Linked DNA regions of Homo sapiens: region 2 is linked to region 1. The links are contacts of gene promoters, found by promoter capture Hi-C in human tissues and cell types (Jung and others, 2019). All regions are on one chromosome and are shown on one strand. The core of a region is centred on a gene start or on the middle of the fragment in contact, and the rest is flanking DNA. Distances in the headings are between cores, read along the strand shown. Region 1 holds the start of RELN (reelin). Region 2 overlaps RELN (reelin).

What was found. Contacts are between HindIII fragments. The study calls those that stand out against the background at their distance.
Region 2: a contact is called between a fragment that was not itself captured here and the fragment with the promoter of RELN in region 1, in 3 of the 25 tissues and cell types used here (H1 embryonic stem cells, IMR-90 fibroblasts and lymphoblastoid cells).

What each region holds. Positions count from the first base shown.
Region 1 is chr7:103,986,071-103,993,829 of GRCh38, forward strand. It overlaps RELN (reelin), which reads right to left and starts at 3,588. Exons shown (of 65, transcript NM_005045.4): 1 at 3,061-3,588. The coding sequence starts at 3,286. The HindIII fragment of the contact is 8,012 bases long and covers 1,277-7,759 here.
Region 2 is chr7:103,498,891-103,506,649 of GRCh38, forward strand. It overlaps RELN (reelin), which reads right to left. Exons shown (of 65, transcript NM_005045.4): 52 at 4,126-4,340; 53 at 1,855-2,032. SLC26A5-AS1 (SLC26A5 antisense RNA 1) reads left to right here. Exons shown (of 4, transcript NR_110141.1): 3 at 5,514-5,634. Among named protein-coding and RNA genes, the nearest start is that of SLC26A5, 57 kb to the left of the region's middle. The HindIII fragment of the contact is 5,472 bases long and covers 1-5,301 here.

The DNA.
Region 1 (7,759 bases), core at 2,338-4,837:
AAAAAAAAATGTTCTGACCCTGAGACCTTTCTAATTCAACATGATGTATAGAGACCTCCTTTCGCTGAGCTTCTACATTGTGGTATACTCATGGTTCATTGTGACTAATAATGCCCTTTCAAAAGAGTCAGAGATAACATAATTTAAAAGATATATGAAGATGAGAAAGAGATACCAAATGACATTTAATTGAGAGATGAGAACACACCAGATGTAACCATGCACTATTTATAGAGTTGCCAGTACTGAAAATAGATGGATATACTACTTAATGTAAAAATCTGTGACAATTCTGTTAGACTCGAAAGCTCCAGATTTTTTAGTACTATATATTTTTTATTTTTGTTAAAGATATTCCATAGATATATTTAAATACGACACATACAGGGACCTATAATTGTGAACCACTTTTATTCTAGACTGGCAATTGCTGCCCCATTTTACATTCTGAGCTCTGCCACACACCCCAGTGTCAGAGGGCAGCTGACTGATCTACAGAAATGTTCTATGTTAGGTGCTATTGTGCACACCACCTCTATCTCAATGCATTCTTTTAGGTAAAAAAAAAAAAAAAAAAAAAAAGTCACAACTATCAGCTCTACACCTAAACATGGTTCATTCAAATGGTGACTTCAATGTAAATCATAAATGTGACTGATTTTTTCTGATATAACTGTTACACTTTAAAGATCCAGAAGGTTAGAAATAAAGTCTCAAGCTAACATTTTACACATTTCTTGTAAGTTTAAGAAGACTTCTTGGGCAAAAGACCTTTCATTTTGGTCACATATCAAAATGGGCCAACCACAAAAGTACATGAGATTAAGTTTTCCTATTGGCAGTTCAATTCTAACAGAAGCTGTGTGTGTGTGTGTGTGTGTGTGTGTGTGTGTGTGTGTGTGTCTGAATTTTTTAAATTAATTTTCAAAAGCCTAAAAGGAAAAGAGACATACATAAGCATCACTTCATTTTTAAACATGTATTCTACCTGTAGAACATTTTACAAAAAAAAAAAAAAAAACTCTTACTTTAAGGCCTATAGCTACAGCTAGTTCCAAAATCTAAATGTTTAATAAAATAGATAACAGAAATTTAAAATCTGACACAATTCTCAAAGCTTATAATAATTTGACCTTTCATAACTTACATAATACAATTTCTCTACCTTTTCTGGTGGTGGAAAAGAGGTGGAAATTGAGATTCTCCTCCGCAATGTCCAACTTGAAGTATTTACACTTTATTTCTACTCTATGTTATCCATTCCTTTTCAGACTTAGATATGTGATTATGGTGAGTCTTAAGGTGACTTGCATTTGCTATTCAAGGGTGCAAGGGAGCAAAACCAAAGGGTGTATGATATTTTGGTGTTTTTAGTTAAGTTTTCAATATCGAGACCTTCCAAAGGATGTGGAAAACAGAAAAAATAATAATAAAGCTTTGTATCATCACATGGTCTTCCATCATAACCTGACAGTCACGCCTTTGAGACCAGCCTCACTCACTTACCCACCGTTCTCACTGAGAGATCATACCGGGCAAGAACTTTTGCTAAGAGTCGCACGGAGCAGCAGGCTGTCAATCAGGCTTTGGGTTAGGTCTGGTTGCCATCACAGTAGCTGCTCCTTCCACTTAAAGATTCTCATTATCTCAGAAAAGCACTAGATTGTTCTTGGGAAGAGGGCGTAGTAAGCACTTTTATCTAAAAAGGGACTAGTTACAGAACATTAATTTTCCAAAATTATTTCTAAAATTCCACCAAATTAAACTTCTGCTTTACAGACAAGGCTGCCACCATGCCACAAGGAAGTTGTAAAAGCACTGTTTAAAACCTCTAGGAGACGTTTATTTAGGCTAAATATTTTATAATAGATATCAAGGTTTTTTTAAAAACAGAAAAATCTTAAGGATTCTTACAATTTTTAAATGCTTGTCTATCTTAAGTGCTAGCACCCCGTAGATTATCTCCCGCCATGCCAATGATTGTTAGCCTATTAGAGATAGAAACTATTAACAGGAGCCTACTGGACAATGGTTTCTATTTGGTTGGGTATAAATATTTTGGGGTTGAAATTCTAATTAAATAGTGCCTGTCGCTGCTTAAAAGCTCTATAGGCATGAAATGTTCAGAAGTCCCAGAAGAAATACAGAAAAGAGACATTTTTTATTTTTCCACATACTCGATGTACTAGCTTAAAATACATGTACTACATAATATTATATTTCTTGGAGCTAAATTTTATTTCTTCTGTAATGTTTATTTTTGATGCAGGGCTGCATAATGATTCCATTTTTAAGATACCTCTAAATTATAAGGGATTCCAGCCTCTACCTGGAAATTAAAGCTGTGCAGATAAAATACAAAGTCATTAATAAACATCACAAAGATAATTCTAACAAGAAGCACCATGTAAAAGTAAGGCAGGAATCAGAAAAATCATCAATTACTGACATATTAAATCACACTTTCAAAAGAATAGGGAGCTGGAAGCAGCCGCTCCCTTTCAGGAGGGCTGTATGACACTGAATGAAATGCCAGGGACTCCTGGCTGGTGAGCAGCGGGAACTTTGCGGTCGAGCGGCGCGGGGCAGCCACAGACCTGGGCGCTTCAATCTGTCACCAGCCTGCCCGCAAAGCCCAGCGACAGCCCCCAACGCCCCCCCGGGGACCCATCTGGGGGGACCGGGAGCAGGACAAAGGTCTGAAATCCAAGTCCTAGGAGTAAAGAAACAAAATGCGCAGGTTCAATTTAAAGTGCCTGCGGTAAGTACGGGGAGTGAGGGGGAAAGACACCGGCCTCCAAGAATTCTCAGGCGTTTAGCACAAGCACCAGCTCATTACCAGGAGATGCGTTCGGGGAGTGGGGACATGGAGAATGAATCCCAACTTGTGACTCCATTCTCCACTAACTTTATTCTCGCTCCCTGGACCAAGCGCATCGCTGGGGCCAGGGTTGTCATGGTTCTTGTTTCCAAGGCCCCTTGGAAGAAGGAAAGGGATGAGAAAGGTGCGCTGGCGGGCGCACCCGGCGGCGGCGAGCGCGGAGGTGCTGCGGTACCTACCATGGTATTCTTGTCCCGGAACGTAGTAGGTGGGGTTGCCCGCAATATGCAGGGAAATGAGCACCTCGCCCTGCTCCCCATCCCCTTCCAGCTCCCCGTGGTGGGTGCACAGGAAAAAGAAGGGCGAAAAGCGGGGGTAATAGCCAGCCGCCGCGCGCGCCCTCAGCGTCGCCCCCAGCAACAGCGCTAGGAGGAAAGTCTGCCGGGCCCAGCCACTGCGCTCCATGCCGCCGCCGCCGCCGCCGCCGCCGCGCGCCCTACGCGCCGCTCGCTCATTCAGTTTTGGAGACGCCGGGACGGAGGAGCCACGCGGAGAGAAGGCGAGAAGAAGGCGGACGGGAGCGGAACGGGCTCGGGAGCGGGCCTGGGAGCGGGCCCCCGCCGAGAAGTTCCGCGGGAGACGGCGGCTCCCAAAGTTACTTTGGGCCGCGGGAGCGCGGGACCGGGGCTGCGGGCGCCGAGAGCGCGTCGTCTGCCGCCTCCGTGCGCCGCCGCCGCCTCTGCGCGACGCCCCTCGGCCAGGCCTGGGAAAGCGCCCGCCCCGCTCCACACCTTCTTAAAGCCCCGGGCGCCGCGTCCCCCCCGCCGCCGCCACACGTGTCCCGGCCGCTCCCCCGCCCCCGCGCGCCGCCCCGCCCGCCCCCCGCCCTCTCGGGCTGGCTCGGCGGCACCTCGCGCGGCGAGGGGCGCACGCGTCCCCGGAGTCCCCGGCCAGCGCCCGGTTCGCACCCGGGAGGACAGGGAGGGGCGCCCGCCGGGGAGCGGGACGGGGACGCTGTCGAGGACCGCTGAGCCCGCGACTCTTCTGCGAGGGACGTCAAAGCCCCGCAGAGGGCACCTCCCGTCCAGCTGTCTGAAGGGGAAGGCCAGCCCCTTTGGCCGTCAGTGTGCCCTGTTTTTCCTGGGAGGATGCGTGAGGGAAGGAGAGGGGCGGCAGGGACGGCCGCTGGCGCCGGTTTCTTTGTCTGAGCCGGCTGCGTCCCGCGCCCCTCGGGGCTCGCAGTCTGCCAGTCCGGGCGGCCCGCACTCGTTCTGGGAATCCGCCCGAGGCCGCGAACCGCTAGGGGCCCTCGCGCTCCCTTCCCACCCAGGCCCCCTGTCCCTCCCGCCGCGGCCGCCCGGCCCCTCGCGGCAGCGACAGAGCCTCATCTGTAGAGGATTTTAAAATGAGATTAAGCGAAAGTGGAATTGGCAGACTCGAGTGGTGCCTGGAAATGGTGATTTGTGCTGCTCGGTTGTGGGGAATTGTAAGGCAGGAAGGGCTGGCGGAGCTAAGATCCGACAGGCTCTCTTCGCCGGACTGTTCTGTTATTCATTGCTTCTGGGCTCTTCAGGCAGAGATGGGTGTTGTAATTTTTTAAATCAGTGTTTATTTCCTTTAAATGTCGGTTATGACCAATGGCCCTGAAATCGGGGGAGGGAAAAACGTTCAGGGGAGATGCTGGCAGCGGTGATTGAAGCGGGTGGTAATGAGCGGCTGCACATGAACTGCAGGGAAGTGAAATAATCCATAAGCACGTTTTTAACCGAGGACGGCTGGCAGGAGCCCTGCGGCATCCGGAGATGGGGGAGCGGGGTTGCCAGGTTTTAATGCCTCTCCCCACCCACCCTTGGCTTGCCACCAAGCCAGATAAACCCGCACGTACAGAAATGAGTAGATTATAAAATTGGAAGGGATAGTGCCTTTGCCTGCATTTGTGGGGCGAGGGGCGGTGAAAATCAGGGTCCAAGGGGAGACCTCTGTAATCACTTCGTTGCAAAAGGAAGAAATTGTTTTTCTTCCTCTTACTGAGACCGAATGACAGGTAGAAAGGGCCCATTTCTAGCTGGCTTCTTGTTTCCCTTACTTCAAAATCCCCAGAGGCTTAACTGCCATATAAATAATATACAGTGTATACATATATGTATGTGCATATATATATATATGATGTGGTAACAATTGCTACACTGTAGCTCTGCGGGGTGCAGGCTGTGGGGCTAGACGTACTTTAGCTTTTTAATCCTAACACCAACTGGAGAGGCAAAAAATATCCCTATTTCACAAGGGAGGAGGCACTCAGAAATGTTGATAACTTGCCCAAAGTCAGTGACAAAGGCTGGATGCAGGGCAGACTGGCTGGCCTCAGAGGCTCTTGTCCTGCACTGCCCTGCCACAGTCGACAGCCCTAGCTGGAGCAGGTGGTGTTGCCCCAAACAGAATTAGGAGATACTCGCCCACAGCTAACAAGGCTGTTACTGCCTTCCTGTCCAGTCATGTGAATATAGCCAAAGACAAAATTAATCACTTGTAGAAAGAATCCAAAACTATTTAATGTTTTTGGCTTACACTTTTAAAATGTTTAGTTACTATGCACTGAGCACCGTCCTAAGTACTATACATACTAACTCCCTTATTCCTCATAACAATACTGTGGGAAAAGTACCATTGATAGCTTCATTTTACTATGATGAAACAGCACAGGGAGGTTAAGTAACTTGTCCAAGGTCACACAGCTAGTGAGTGCTGTGACTTGAACCCAGGCAGTCTGATTTTGACACACTAACCACTGCAAATCGCCTCTAAAGAATGCATGTTGGTGTTGTTAGAGGGATGGGGGAATAATTATTCTTCATCCAGTGTCAGAATACCTCATTTAATCCTTATATTAGCCTGCAAAGTAGGTATAATTATCTTCATTTTTAAAGAGAAGAAAGTTGAGATTCATAGAAGTTAAAGGAGCTTGGGATCAAGTCTGGCCATGCTTGATGCCAAGGTCGCTGCTTAAATAAACTGTCTTTAGTAAGCGCTGACACTTGGTCCAGGACATGATTGGAATTTAATTCATATAAGGTCCTCAATTCCCAGGAAGTCCCCTTCTTTCCATTGTGTAGTGCACTCTCAGAGAAATATTCTTTCTCGTATCTCTCGACATGGCTTTCTTAACATTCAATTTATGTGACCAAGTTTATTTTTCAATCTTCCCCTTTATTGTGCTTCCTTAATTTTTACCACTTTGCTTTGCTATTACATTTGAATAACTTTTATACTGTTAGCCATGAAGCAAGCTCATATTTCTGGCTACAGCCCTGCAGTTGTTCAGTAACAGACACAAAGACTGTTTTTAAATAATGTCCTGAGTGGTGTTGAGCTGGTCAAGAGGGGAGTAAAAGTTGGTACACTCCAGTCTGCAGTCCTTAGAACTAACATGAATACCTTGTAGAGGCTCAAGTTCATATTTGTTTCATCTCTGACACTTTTTTTGATTAGGCCAGTTCAACTAGTCATTAAAAACTTTTAAATAACCTTTAGAAAATCAGAAAAATACATAAATCATATATAAAATCCATTGAACCGAGAGTAGCATCTTCTTAGTGAGCAACTTACTTGAAATCACGCAATAAGGTGGAAACCCAGGTTAGATAGCAAAACTTCCTGTTTCCCAATTCGTGTGCTAACCCTTACACCTCGTTTCTATTTAGTGAGCCATAATAAGTATCTCCAAGAATATTGGGTCTGCAAAATCCAAAAACCTTCCGAACTAATAGAAAAATAGAGAAGTGCTTTTCCAGAAAAAATGGTTTACATCAAAAACATCTGCAAAAAATAAAAGGTGATGTCAGGTGAAAATGAATAGGCTTGTGGGAAAGGGAGTTTAAAATGGAATGAGATTTATTTTTAATTAAAAGAGTTTTGAAATAGTAATTAGTCTACCAAAAGAATTAAACTAAGTATTCTTAGAAGATAAATCCACTTCTTCTTGATAAGTGGAAATTATTGCCCAGTATTTGAATAATCATAACACGATGGGAATTAAATTCATATATATATATATATTTGCTATGTGTGTGTATATATATATATATATATATCTGCTATATCTCTCTATATATACATGTATATATATACATATATCAGATACATAGCTTTTAAATTATTGGGAGGTGATTCATCCATATGAAATACAAAGAAGACATTAAATTATATTTTAAGGTTGCAAGAATTCACTCATCTGCCTTCCATTGATATTTTTTGAGATGAAGCATTAAACATTTTGGTATATGTGGGAAAGTGAGTCACTATTCTTATTTACCATGTAAAAATCAAACAAAGTTTATAAAATCAAAAAATATGTAAATATAAATATGAAGAGGGTGAACAAACTGAAATCAGTTGACTTATTAGACTCTAAAATGGTAATAAAAGGCCACATGAGAGCAAACCCAATAGCAGCTAATAAACTTATAAAATCTATTACTCATAAGACATGGTACTGTATGATAAAATTGAGGCTCCTAAGCAAAAAACAAAAATCAAAAAAAAAAACACACAAAAATAGACCCTAAAGATCAGTAAGCCTTTTGCAAATGAAATTGCACTGAGAAAGGTGGGATATTAGGGAGTTGGCTCTGTTACGTACGTCCTGCCGGAACATGTTACTTATTGCCACCCCAGATTGAAATACCATGATGAGATAAACTATGGGACAACACAAAGTCATTATATTGTAAGATTTCTGAAACAGAATCTGATTCCTCAACACTAAAAATCCCTTTTTTTAAAGTTTCTCCACTTCCTGGGATTTTCCCTGCCCCTGCTTCTCTCTGGAATGCCCTTCCTGTTTCCTGTGGCCTAACCACACATCTTCCACCCTCCTCTCCCTCACCTCACTTCTTACTTGGCTATAGCAACTCATGCTCCAAGTCTTCTCTCACACATTTT
Region 2 (7,759 bases), core at 1,316-3,815, 490 kb before region 1:
TGTAATGTATTATATTATGAAACATGCCAAAAGGAATTTGAAAGCAATAAGATAAAATATAAACATGCAATCCAGCACTTTCCCCCTGACATTCCCCAATGGATTGTCCTGGTGTGTGTGCCCTCACTTTGGAGACTGCTTCAGGCAGCCAGGATCCTTCAGCCTCTAGCACAGAATGAACCTTGAAGGTCTACATGGTTAGGCAGGGACACTTGAAACCAAATCTCTCTATATAAGTCAAAAGAAAGTAAACCTTTGAAGGCAGTTTGAAAGATGTTTCACCTGTTTATCAGGCCAAGTTGCAGGGTGATAAGTACTCAAAATCTAGAATACAATATTTTCCCCTGAGTCTCCAGTTTATCCTTTTAACTAAGAATGATTGACAACCAGAAAATCTATTTTTCAGAGAGTGTACAAAGTATAAAGGTTCTTGGCTACATTTTTTTGTAAAATTTGCTTATCTCCTCATAGTCAAGGTCTTAATTTCCCTATTCATTCTGTCTACAGTACTTTCATTTTATCCATAATGCAGATTTGTATTAGGTAGAGACACATTTCTTGTTTAAAATGATGAAAAGATATCATAAAGCCAATTTGTTCTAGTTGCAATGCAATAACTGTATACAGAAAAACCTATATTTTTTCATTTAAGGAGAGTTCTATCTTACTGTGTAGTTAAAATGATTTAAACAGTTTCTTTTTCTCAAACTTAGAAGATAATCAATTCTATAGTTAAAGACATACAGTCAAATGTCAGTCTGCCTTAGTCTCACTAATGGATAGCAAATGAATACGTTTTATAATTGAAAGCTTGTAAGAAGACAAGTGTTAGAAGAAATGCATGGTTAACCACGTAAACTTTCATTAGAAGATTTTAATCAGGGTTTATAATTTATAGATTTGTACAATTTCTTATCCAACTGAGGAATACTAATAAAATTTGAGTGCTCATGAAAGAAATTAGATTTTCAAAAGTTTATTAATTACCTGTGGTATATAAAGCTTTGTTTTTCATGTGGTAACCTCATTTGTTAATAATGTACTTACATCTTCAGACACAAATGAGCATTGTTCCAATTTTATTTAAAAAATGTTCAATTCCATAGTTGAAGTATTAGAACAAACACAAATGACAGAACAGGTTTGATTTACATTGTTGACTCTCATATGTTGGATTTCAATCACTAGGAATTTTGCTTTTTTTAGCCTAGTCATTTTTCTGTTATTGTAATGACAAATGCACTATGTTTATTCACAGAAATAGAGTGCATATGTGGCAACTGTGTTGGGTAACTGTATTTGCTTTGCATATTAAATAATGATGTAACAGCTAAAGCTTTCAAAAGTGACCTCTCCATTCTTAATACACAACCCCATTTCAGCAGTCAACGAATCAGAACACAGAATTTTCTAAACAAAAATTCAGGTACTGTTTAGGCCTTTTTGAAAATTTGGTCTTTTGTGATAATGTATATTATTTGCTTTATTTCATAACAATAATAACAATAATATCTTCCTTCAAATAGTGCATCAATTGAAAAAGTGAAGTAAAAAAGGCTTAATATTGACTTTAAAAATAGTCTGCTTAAGAAAAAAAAAAGAAACCCAGAGTATTTATCATTTGTAATCCATATAGTCTGGCTCATTTTATGAACTGGATAAACTGTACTAGAACTTGATCCTAATATTCTTGTACTTAGGAAACATAAGACATTTTTAAAGTTTCTATTCAAAGGATTTTCTTTCCTGGGGGACCCAAAGGACATTGTTATAGATTATGTCTCATACATAAGTTGGTTCCTAGGCATGACCCATGATGTGAGTAATGCGTCTTGTCCAGGGCTTTACCCTTACCTTCAGAGTGTGGGTCAAGTAGCAGTTTGGCCCTGAGTATCCCGGATCACAGATGCACTGTTCCCTTAAGCAATCTCCATGGCCCCTGCAGTTGTCCAAGCATCCAGGGCCCAGGTAGAAATTATCGATTGCCCACTGCATGTCTGAGTACTTCTGATAGAACCTAAACCTTACCGGACTATTGACAATGCAAAAGCAAAGGAGTGAAAAACAAAAGTTAACTGTATTTAGGTCCATTGTCCTGCATGTGTATTCAGTACTCAAGAGAAAAAACATTTAAGATACTCTTACTAGATGAAATAGGTTAATAAAAAATGTTTTCTGACCACTCTTATCTTTCTAGTAATGGAACTTTCAAGCTGGTTTTATTGAAATTTCAGAATATCTGAGCACACTTGCACAACAAAATTAAATCAGTGGAATCTCTGTGTCAAGAAATAAATAGAAATATTTAAATACACAAATCTGTAACTTTCATAAATCAGGTTTCTTCTGAATTGGAGTTCCGTGGTCATGATGCAATTTAGATTCACTAATTGCATTTCTGAAATTGTACAGAAGGTGAGTGACGCCTTTGACAAGAGCCTTGTCAGCATACACACAGCCCTCAGGCGGTCGGGAGGCAGCATTTTCTGAATTCCCTGAAGACAATCAATATTCTCAGAGTAACTATGCTAATTAGAAAACAATTTTGAAAGGGTTATATTAAAGGACATTTTCTTTGAGATTTTAATTTCATCTTTGTTCTTCTCTGTCTTCTGGGGGAAAAAACAAGCCTCATAATTATCCTTATATTAAAATATGCCATACTATTTTGGTTTAAAGAATCCAAAGTACATGAAGGAACTTTCTGGGGTGATATAAATGTTCTGTATCTTGTTTTATGTGGTGGTTACATGGGTTACACAACTAAAAACTCATTGATCTGAACAATTAAGATGTATGTATTTTACTGAATGTAAATTATACCTCATTATTACAAAAAGAGAATGGGAGGAGAAAATGAGTCTGTGATAGACATCATGGTGGGTCCCCAGCATCCATTTCACCCCAGATAATCCATGAAATAATCATTTCCTAACTCAACTATTGAGTGGCTAATTGGTACCAGTGGGATGCAAGGTGGCGCTTGTTCTGGCTGTCTTGGAACAAAAGCAACTATCTTTCTTTCTCACTGGACGTAAGTACGGAAGCATCCTGCCCCAGTTCTCTGGCTGCCATCTCATGTTCAATAGCAAAACCAGCCTGAGAGAGCTGAGTATGCCGCCAGTGCCGTGGACAGCAGATATTCTCTTAAGAGGATAAGGAGGAACGCTGTCCCTGAAGACACCGTTCAACTTACAAATCAACCAGCCCTAGAGTTCACTTATCTTTGGATTCGTTCATTATAGATATAACAAATTTCGAGCTGGTTTGAATTGGGTTTTCTGTTCCTTGCAGCTGAAAGCATCCTGATTTAATTCCTTAGTATGTTAATTGAATAAGCTCTTTAGATACATTCCAGAAAACCCTGAGTGGTAATAATAATAATAATAATATCTATGGGACACTGGGAACTGTGCGTAAGCACTTTATTCAAAGACTCTTTATGTTTCACAAGATTTGTTTAGTCAGACTATCTGATTAATACAGTCTAGGTGCACCTGTTATTTTCTTTTGTGTATCTTTACTTTTAAAGTAGAAGAGAAATCTTTTGGAATTGCCTTAAATTAATATATCCACAGACTTTGCAGAGCAAGGTTTAATCACCTCTGCTCATCACTGGTCCAGGCTAATTACCTCTCACTGCAGGATCAGAATACAATGCTTTGATAAGAGAAAAATGGATCCCATAAGTCACAGTGGTAGAAATAGCATGATGAGTTAGGATTTGCTCCTGGCTCTGTCTATCATGGATTGATAAGGCAATAATGTGGAAAGTATATAGTGCACAGAGGTCCACAGTCTACAAGGTTGAGAAGGTAGGGTACACCTTTTCATCTGGCTCCAAGGCCATCACTATTGCTCTGTTCCCATTTTAAGATACTGAGGTTTAGAAAATAAGAGTCTGCAAAAGCCCATATTGCCAAGTCTGAGGATTACAAATTGAGGTCTGAAGTTAGCTCATCATGGAAGTTATGATGAAAGTAACCAATTAGAGAACCTTTAGAGTTAGGGAGAAAGAAAGCACTTTACCCACAAATACACATAATTTCAGGCATGACAACAGTGTACCTAATGGTGTACCTTCTGGATGCTTGGAACCAGGCTTTGTTTTAGTTTTCTACTTACTTTCCCACTAAGCTTTCAGGAAGTGGGTAGGTGATCCTTTTCCACCCTTTAGTTGGAAAGAATACAGATGGCTGAGAAACACTTCCAGAGCATTTTGGGTCAGCAGGCAAGCACTGAGGGACCAGATAATTCCAACTCACACCGAAGTCAGTAGAATACTGCACATGAATTTGATTCTGGGCAATTTTTTCAGACACCTTACATCCAACTGAGATCTAATAAACAGAAAAACAAGATCAAGGTATTAAAACTATATGATATGATTCTTCTCCAAGGACTTGGCAGCAAAAAAGCTGCTGATCACTTGATATACACTGTACCACATCCATCCTGTATTTTCAGATTCATTATTTGTTCTGCTAATGGACAGAGAAAGTCACCATGATTGCCCCAGGTGACAAATTATAGAAAGTGCCAAATATATTGTGTAGGGGGTTTGGAGAGAAACTCAGACCCCGTGCTTCTGCCATGCTGGCTGAATGCCTTGGAAGGCCTGGGCTCACTCCTACAAACTGTTAGTTGTGCTAATGGTCTGGCATTTCTATTTGGCAGAATACTTAACCAAGAAGAATAGCTAACAGCTTTACCAATTTTACTATTTTGTTGTACAATTTATGACTCTCAATACAACACTTTCAACGACAAGTAAGATGAAATAATAACTGAAGGTAGTTTAAACAAGGCACAGCACCCTTCGTTGATGGTGATAGCCATGATGTGACACTGCTGTTAATACAGTGGGATTTAGGTAGACAGAATAAATTGGTTCACATAAAATCTTGGCCTAAATATTAGCCAAAATTGATGTTGACATTAATGCTAATCATGCCTTTGTTTTCTATAAATTTTTTTCTCCAGAAACATCCAAATGTTCTTGTAAAAAAAAAAAAAAAAAAAAAAAAACTAGAGGCTGGGTGCCATGGCTCACGCCTGTAATCCCAGCACTTTGGGAGGCCGAGACGGGTGGATCACGAGGTCAGGAGTTTGAGACCAGCCTGACCAACATGGTGAAACCCTGTCTCTACTAAAAATACAAAAATTAGCTGGGCATGGTGGCGTGCACCTGTAATCCCAGCTACTCAGGAGCCTGAGGCAGGAGAATCGTCTGAACCCGGGAGGCAGAGGTTGCAGTGAACCAAGATTACGCCACTGCACTCTAGCCTGGGCAACAGAGCAAGACTCCGTCTCAGAAAAAAAGGTCTTATTTCACCTAAATTTCTAAGTTATAGTTAGTATTAATAGAGAGATGGGTAAGAGGAAAAAAAGTAGAAATAACCATTATAGCTTTAATTTTCTCTTGTTGAAACAAATTGCTTAAGTCATAATGATTTAACTCGGAGTTATAATCAGTATCCTACATTTTTATTGTTGATATTTTTATCTATCAGTATTTCATCCTGAGCAGGAACACATTTACTCTTATAAAAGTTTCAGCTTGAGAGACAGCTGGCAAGATGGCTGAATAGGAACAGCTCCAGTCTGCAGCTCCCAGCAAGATCAATGCAGAAGGTGGGTGATTTCGGCATTTCCAACTGAGGAACCCGGTTCATCTCATTGGGACTGGTTGGACAGTGGGTGCAGCCCATGGAGGGTGAGCTGAAGCAGAGTGTGGCAGAACCACAAGGGGTCGGGGGATTTCCCTTTCCTAGCCAAGGGAAGCCGTGAGCAACTGTGCTGGGAGGAACAGTGCAATCTGGCCCAGATACTGCGCTTTTCCCACAGTCTTTGCAACTGGCAGACCAGGACATTCCCTTCGGTGCCTGGCTCAGTGAGTCCCACCCCCACGGAGCCCAGCAAGGTAAGATTCACTGGCTTGAAATTCTCGCTGCCAACACAGCAGTCTGAGGTCGAACTGGGATGCTCGAGCTTGGTTTGGGGAGGGGCGTCTGCCATTACTGAGGCTTGAGTAGGCGGTTTTCCCTTCACTGTGTAAACAGAGCCACCCAGAAGTTTGAAATGGGTGGAGCCCGCCTCAGCTCAGCAAGGCCAACTGCCACTCTAGATTCCTCCTCTCTGGGCAGGGCATCTCTGAAAAAAAGGCAGCAGCCCCAGTCAGGGACTTATAGATAAAACTTCCATCTCCCTGGGATAGAGCTCCTGGGGGAAGGGGTGCTGTGGGCACAGCTTCAGCAGACTTAAACGTCCCTGCTTGACAGCTCTGAAGAGAGCAGCGGTTCTCTCAGCACAGCATTTGAGCTCTGATAAGGGACAGGCTGCCTCCTCAAGTGAAACCCTGACCCCTGTGTATCCTGATTGGGAGACACCTCCCAGTAGGGGCCGACAGACACCTCATACAGGAGAGCTCCGGCTGGCATCTGGTGGGTGCCCCTCTGGGATGAAGCTTCCAGAGGAAGGAACAGGCAGCAATCTTTGCTGTTCTGTAGCCTCTGTTGGTGATACCTAGGCAAACAGGGTCTGGAGTGGACCTCCAGCAAACTGCAGGAGACCTGCAGCAGAGGGGCCTGACTGCCAGAAGGAAAACTAACAAACAGAAAGGAATAGTATCAATACCAACAAAAAGGAGGTCCACTCATAGACCCCATCCTAAGGTCACCAACATCAAAGACCAAAGGTAGATAAATCCACGAAGATGGGGAGAAACCAGCGCAAAAAGGCTGAAAATTCCAAAAGCCAGAAAATTCCAAAAGCCAGAATGCCTCTTCTCCTCCAAAGGATCACAACTCCTCGCCAGCAAGGGAACAAAACGAGATGGAGAATGAGTTTGGCAAATTGACAGAAGTAGGCTTCAGAAGGTGGGTAATAACAAACTCCTCCAAGCTAAAGGCGCATGTTCTAACCCAATGCAAGGAAGCTATAAGAACCTTGAAAAAAGGTTAGAGGGACTGCTAACTAGAATAACCAGTTTAGAGAAGAATATAAATGACCTGATGGAGCTGAAAAACACAGCACGAGAACTTCGTGAAGCATACACAAGTATCAATAGCCGAATCGATCAAGTGGAGGAAAGAATATCAGAGAATGAAGATCAAATCAATGAAATAAAGTGGGAAGACAACATTAGAGAAAAAAGAGTGAAAAGAAACAAAGCCTCCAAGAAATATGGGACTACGTGAAAAGACCAAATCTATGTTTCATCAGTGTATCTGAAAGTGATGGGGAGAATGGAACCAAGTTGGAAAACACTCTTCAGGATATTATCCAGGAGAACTTCCCCAACCTAGCAAGGCAGGCCAACATTCAAATTCAGGAAATACAGAGAACGCCACAAAGATACATAATCGTCAGATTCACCAAGGTTGAAATGAAGGAAAAAATGTTAAGGGCAGCAAGAGAGAAAGGTCGGGTTACCCACAAAGGGAAGCCCATCAGACTAACAGCAGATCTCCCTGCAGAAACCCTACAAGCCAGAAGAGAGTGGAAGCCAATATTCAACATTCTTAAAGAAAAGAGTTTTCAATCCAGAATTTCATATCCAGCCAAACTAAGCTTCATAAGCGAAGGATAAATAAAATCCTTTACAGACAAGCAAATGCTGAGAGATTTTTGTCACCACCAGGCCTGCCTTACAGGAGCTCCTGAAGGAAGCACTAAACATGGAAAGGAACAACCAGTACCAGCCACTGCAAAAACATACCAAATTGTAAAGACCATTGATGCTTTGGATAAACTGCAT